2 separate regions of the Homo sapiens genome follow, and region 2 is linked to region 1. Evidence: promoter capture Hi-C in human tissues and cell types (Jung and others, 2019). All regions are on one chromosome and are shown on one strand. Each heading gives the region's core, a stretch centred on a gene start or on the middle of the fragment in contact. The rest is flanking DNA. Distances are from core to core; before and after follow the strand shown. Region 1 holds the start of MYCL (MYCL proto-oncogene, bHLH transcription factor). Region 2 has its middle 26 kb from the start of HEYL.

Region 1 (2,819 bases), core at 135-2,634:
GGTGTTCTTAGACCACAGGGGTGGGAGGGAAAGAGAGAGACAGCAGACAATCAGGCTGGGGTAGACAGACACCAGACCTTGATGCCAGGTGGAGGAATCTAGATGTATTGGCTGCTGTCCCAAGTTACTCTCCTCTGGCCTAAATCTCAGACTGGCCGTATAGTTTAATTTTTTCTCTTCCACCAAAGGTCATCTGTGTAGAAGATGACACAAAGGGGGACCCAGCACGGTGACCCGTGCCTGTAATCCCTGCACTTTCGGAGGCTAAGGAGGGAGGATCATTTGAGCCCAGGAGTTCGAGGCTGCAGCGAGTCATGATCGAGCCACTGCACTCCAGCCTTGACGCTGAGTGAGACCCTGTCTCTTAACAAAATATATTTAAAATTTAAAAAGAAGATTATACAAAGGGGTTATCTATCATCTTGGCCAGCAATGCAGGGCAAAACTTGAAACAACTTGGTCCTGCAGTATTTTCCAGATGCCAAATCCTCATTCTCTACTGTACAGCTCCTACAGTGTTTTGTGTGAGATGAGAGGGAGCATGGCGGGTCTCAGCTGGCTTTGCCCTGGGAAAAATTCCTCATTTCTGCACCGCCTCCCCAAAGCGGGGGCTAAGCCAGCGCCGTCTGCCTCTCCACCTAGACCAGACCCCTTCCCTAGATGCTCTTATTTCCCTGAAGCCTCACAACAACCCTGTGAGGTAAGCATTACCATCCCTTCATTTTACAGATGAAACTGAAGCTCAGGAAGGTTACGTTTCGGGCTCTAAATCCCGGAATCTTCGCTTCGATGCCATCCAGGCTTGGGCCACTGAGCTCAAGAAACGGGCCGACGGGTGACCAGACGGACGCCGGGACCAGCCCAAGTTCAGGGCTGAGGGCCGCCAGGTGGCGCGTTTCCCTCCCCCTACCCCTCGCGGCGGCTCGGGCGCACCTGAACCCAGCGGGGTGCGCCGGGGAAAGTAGGCGCGCAGGGTGGGGCGGGGAGTAGCCCTAATTCCCCAGCTCGGAGTGGGCAAGGAGCACGGTTTAGCTCAGCCGGCTGGCACCGCCAAGCGGCCGCCGGGCCGCATCAGCCCTCCTCCTGTTTGCGCTCCCCAGCGTGCAATTTATTTGGGGGGCTACCGGGGATTGAACGGAGCGGGCGAGCGCTGCCAGGAGGTGGGGCCGGCCCCACCTGTCGACTGCCCGTAGTAGGCAGGGAGAGGGCGGGGTTTGTCCCATAGGGCCCGCCCCCCAGTCCCTGGGTCCCGGGCGCGCGACGAGATATAAGGCAGTCAGGAAACAATGCGCCTGCAGCTCGCGCTCCCGCGCCGATCCCGAGAGCGTCCGGGCCGCCGTGCGCGAGCGAGGGAGGGCGCGCGCGCGGGGGGGGCGCGCTTGTGAGTGCGGGCCGCGCTCTCGGCGGCGCGCATGTGCGTGTGTGCTGGCTGCCGGGCTGCCCCGAGCCGGCGGGGAGCCGGTCCGCTCCAGGTGGCGGGCGGCTGGAGCGAGGTGAGGCTGCGGGTGGCCAGGGCACGGGCGCGGGTCCCGCGGTGCGGGCTGGCTGCAGGCTGCCTTCTGGGCACGGCGCGCCCCCGCCCGGCCCCGCCGGGCCCTGGGAGCTGCGCTCCGGGCGGCGCTGGCAAAGTTTGCTTTGAACTCGCTGCCCACAGTCGGGTCCGCGCGCTGCGATTGGCTTCCCCTACCACTCTGACCCGGGGCCCGGCTTCCCGGGACGCGAGGACTGGGCGCAGGCTGCAAGCTGGTGGGGTTGGGGAGGAACGAGAGCCCGGCAGCCGACTGTGCCGAGGGACCCGGGGACACCTCCTTCGCCCGGCCGGCACCCGGTCAGCACGTCCCCCCTTCCCTCCCGCAGGGAGCGGACATGGACTACGACTCGTACCAGCACTATTTCTACGACTATGACTGCGGGGAGGATTTCTACCGCTCCACGGCGCCCAGCGAGGACATCTGGAAGAAATTCGAGCTGGTGCCATCGCCCCCCACGTCGCCGCCCTGGGGCTTGGGTCCCGGCGCAGGGGACCCGGCCCCCGGGATTGGTCCCCCGGAGCCGTGGCCCGGAGGGTGCACCGGAGACGAAGCGGAATCCCGGGGCCACTCGAAAGGCTGGGGCAGGAACTACGCCTCCATCATACGCCGTGACTGCATGTGGAGCGGCTTCTCGGCCCGGGAACGGCTGGAGAGAGCTGTGAGCGACCGGCTCGCTCCTGGCGCGCCCCGGGGGAACCCGCCCAAGGCGTCCGCCGCCCCGGACTGCACTCCCAGCCTCGAAGCCGGCAACCCGGCGCCCGCCGCCCCCTGTCCGCTGGGCGAACCCAAGACCCAGGCCTGCTCCGGGTCCGAGAGCCCAAGCGACTCGGGTAAGGACCTCCCCGAGCCATCCAAGAGGGGGCCACCCCATGGGTGGCCAAAGCTCTGCCCCTGCCTGAGGTCAGGCATTGGCTCTTCTCAAGCTCTTGGGCCATCTCCGCCTCTCTTTGGCTGAAGCTGCCCGTGTAGTCCCCAACCGTGTCTGTCTGGCACGTGGGTGTGTTGGTAAACAGTTTGGAAAAGTGGCGTGGGAGCCAGCCTCCCTTTGATGATTATTGGAGCCCCAGGGGACAAGGGATTTGAGGTGAGGGTTGGCGCTTAGAGAGGACAATACTGGGGTTGGACTGTAAGGGATTGAAGGGGGTACCTTAAGAGACACTCCAAACCTGAAGTTTTTTTGCTGCTGCCTCTTTCCCTAGGAAACTCACACTCCCCTAGGGGGAGAAGAAGCCGAGAGCCTTTTGTGCAAAGCCAAAACCTTCGTCCTTTTAAAAACCTAGGTCTCCA
Region 2 (2,819 bases), core at 96-2,595, 290 kb after region 1:
CTCCCCAGTAGCTGGGATTACAGGCACACACCACCATGCCCAGCTAATTTTAGTATTTTTAGTAGAGACAGGGTTTTACCATGTTAGCCAGGCTGGTCTCGAACTCCTGACCTTGTGATCCGCCCACCTCGGCCTCCTAAAGTGCTGGGATCACAGGCGTGAGCCACCACGCCTGGCCCACCATGGTTTTGTCTATGTATAAATGGAATTAGACAGCAGGGAAACTTTTGAGTCTGGCTTTCTTCGCTTAGTGTAATGCTTTAGAAATTCATCAAGTTCTGTGAATGAGTTGCTCTTTCTTTTCGTTGCTGTGTAGTATTCCATTGTACAGATAGATCCCAATTTGTTTATCCATTCACCTTTTGATGCATATTTGGGTTGAGTCCTGAGGATGGTTTTCAGTCACAGAAAAGACTATTTGGAAGTTTATTTCTGGAGTAAACAATTAGTTTCTATTTATTAAAGTTACTAGTTCAAAACACTACTAATTCTTTCTTAACCTTAAGATTCAACCTATTGGCCAGGCGTGGTGGCTCACACCTGTAATCCCAGCAATTTAGGCAGCCGAGACAGGAAGATTACTTGAGGCTAGGAGCTGGAGACCAGTATGGGCAACATATCAAGACCCCATGTCTACAAAAAATTAAAATTTAATAATAATAAAATATTTAAAAAGTATAAATAAAATTCAGCTTACAAACCTTGTTTGAAAATCTAGATTTTAGCAAATGCTTCTAAGGGGCTTTTTACAACTTTATATCTTCAAACGTAAATGAATAGGTTTGATTTTCTTTTTCAGTATCTCAGTGTGGAAGAAAAGTTAAATATTAAATTTGAACTCAACTGAACATGGACACAAACAATGGTCACCAAGTCCCTGAACAGGTTGTGTGAGCCCCTTGAGGCGTTCATCCAGCACTGTTTCGGAGGAATCTCTATTTCAATCTATTCCTATACATTAGTTATTGAAAAACAACACACAATCGCAAAAACAAGTTGACCTTTTTGTGTTCCTTGAGACCGATAATGAAGGGCCCTCGTGACCGGACCTCATGCCAAACAACTCGTTACAAAAAGAGCTAGGGTCCCAGCTGCGCTGAAGCTTCATGAGACCTCTCCTCATCTGTGCATGGATGAGTGGCCGACTCTGGAGCCCAGGCTGTTGCTTCCCAGTCTGGTGGTGAATCCTCCATAGTCTGGTGAGTGTAAATATGTGTATATCTCTTTTCCCTTCTCCCCTTCCCATTGCAATTTGCTTATTATGTCATTTACTTATATCAATTTGCTTATTATATTAATTTCCTTATTATATCATTTGCTTATTATATCTGCATTGCCATTTACGTGGGATAAAGCTTGTTTACCCTTAAAGGTATTGTGTGTGTGCCTTTTCTTCTCCCCTCACGCAGCTCCCGCGGCTCCCACACAGGACGCTCAGTTATCTGTATAAACAAAACCTTCCTGAAGATTTAAATCATTCTTATACATCAAGTAAATCCAAGTTATAAATAGGATGAATCTTAAGTTCTCTCAAAAATCTGTTTATCTAAAAAACTAGGGCTGGGCACTGTGACTCACACTTGTAATCCCAGGACTTTGGGAGGCTGAGGCTGATTGCCTGAGCCCAGGAGTTTGAGAACAGCCTGGGCAATATAGTGAGACCTCATCTCCACAAAAAATTTAAAAATTAGCCAGACATGGTTGCGCACGCCTGTGATCCTATCTACTCAGGAGGCTGAGGTGGGAGGATCACTTGAGCCGGGGAGGCAGAGGTTTCAGTGAGCTGAGATCCAGCTACTGCATTCCAGCCTGGGAAACAGAGTGAGACCCTGTCTCAAAAACAAAAACAGAAAACAAAACAAAAACCCTAAATGTATCTAGATTATTTCTTTGAACAGAAATATTAATGCTAAGGTTTTTTGTCTTTGTTTTTTATGAGAACGGGGTCTCACTCTGTAGCCCAGTCTGGAGTGCAGTAATGCAATCTCATCTCACTGCAACCTCTGCCTCCCGGGTTCAAGCGATTCTTCTGCCTCAGCCTCCTCAGTAACTGGGATTACAGGCACGCAGCACCACACCTGGGTAATTTTTGTATTTTTAGTAGAGACGTGGCTTCACCATGTTCGTCAGGCTGGTCTCGAACTCCTGACCACAAGAGTTCCGCCTGCCTCGGCCTCCCAAAGTGCTGCGATTACAGGCGTGAACCACCATGCCCGGCCAATGCTAAGATTTAAATTTTTGGTTTAGCATGCTAGTCTTAGTTCTAAATCTTCCTGAGGTTATGTTACATAAGTATCCTCATCAAGGACACTCTAAGGAAGAAAGTTCCATCACCGGTAACAGAGGTTAATTAATTTTTCATCTTCTAAGGTTACAGATGTGTTCCACAAAGAAAAAAAAGGCCGGGCACGGTGGCTCACGCCTGTAATCCCAGCACTTTGGGAGGCTGAGGTGGGCGGATCACGAGGTCAGGAGATCGCGACCATCCTGGCTAACACGGTGAAACACTGTCTCTACTAAAAATACAAAAAATTAGTCGGGCGTGGTGGTGGGCGCCTGTAGTCCCAGCTACTGGGGAGGCTGAGGCAGGAGAATGGCGTGAACCCGGGAGGCGGAGCTTGCAGTGAGCCCAGATGGCACCACTGCACTCCAGCCTGGGTGACAGTGCGAGACTCTGTCTCAAACAACAACAACAACAACAACAACAACAACAAAACAAAACAGACCAAAAAAAACCACAGTCCTCCCAGTTAATTGAGATCATGTGCCCACTAAGAAAGACACCTGTGGGGCTGCAGTGGCCAGCCATGCCCTCAGCA

The links. Contacts are between HindIII fragments. The study calls those that stand out against the background at their distance.
Region 2: a contact is called between a fragment that was not itself captured here and the fragment with the promoter of MYCL in region 1, in 1 of the 25 tissues and cell types used here (lymphoblastoid cells).

What each region holds. Positions count from the first base shown.
Region 1 is chr1:39,900,482-39,903,300 of GRCh38, reverse strand. MYCL (MYCL proto-oncogene, bHLH transcription factor) reads left to right here and starts at 1,384. Exons shown (of 2, transcript NM_001033081.3): 1 at 1,384-2,362. The coding sequence starts at 1,867. RefSeq lists silencers at 811-1,020, 1,281-1,600, 2,011-2,130. The HindIII fragment of the contact is 12,166 bases long and covers 1-2,819 here.
Region 2 is chr1:39,612,185-39,615,003 of GRCh38, reverse strand. No RefSeq gene overlaps it. Among named protein-coding and RNA genes, the nearest start is that of HEYL, 26 kb to the left of the region's middle. RefSeq lists an enhancer at 1,346-1,515. The HindIII fragment of the contact is 4,795 bases long and covers 1-2,819 here.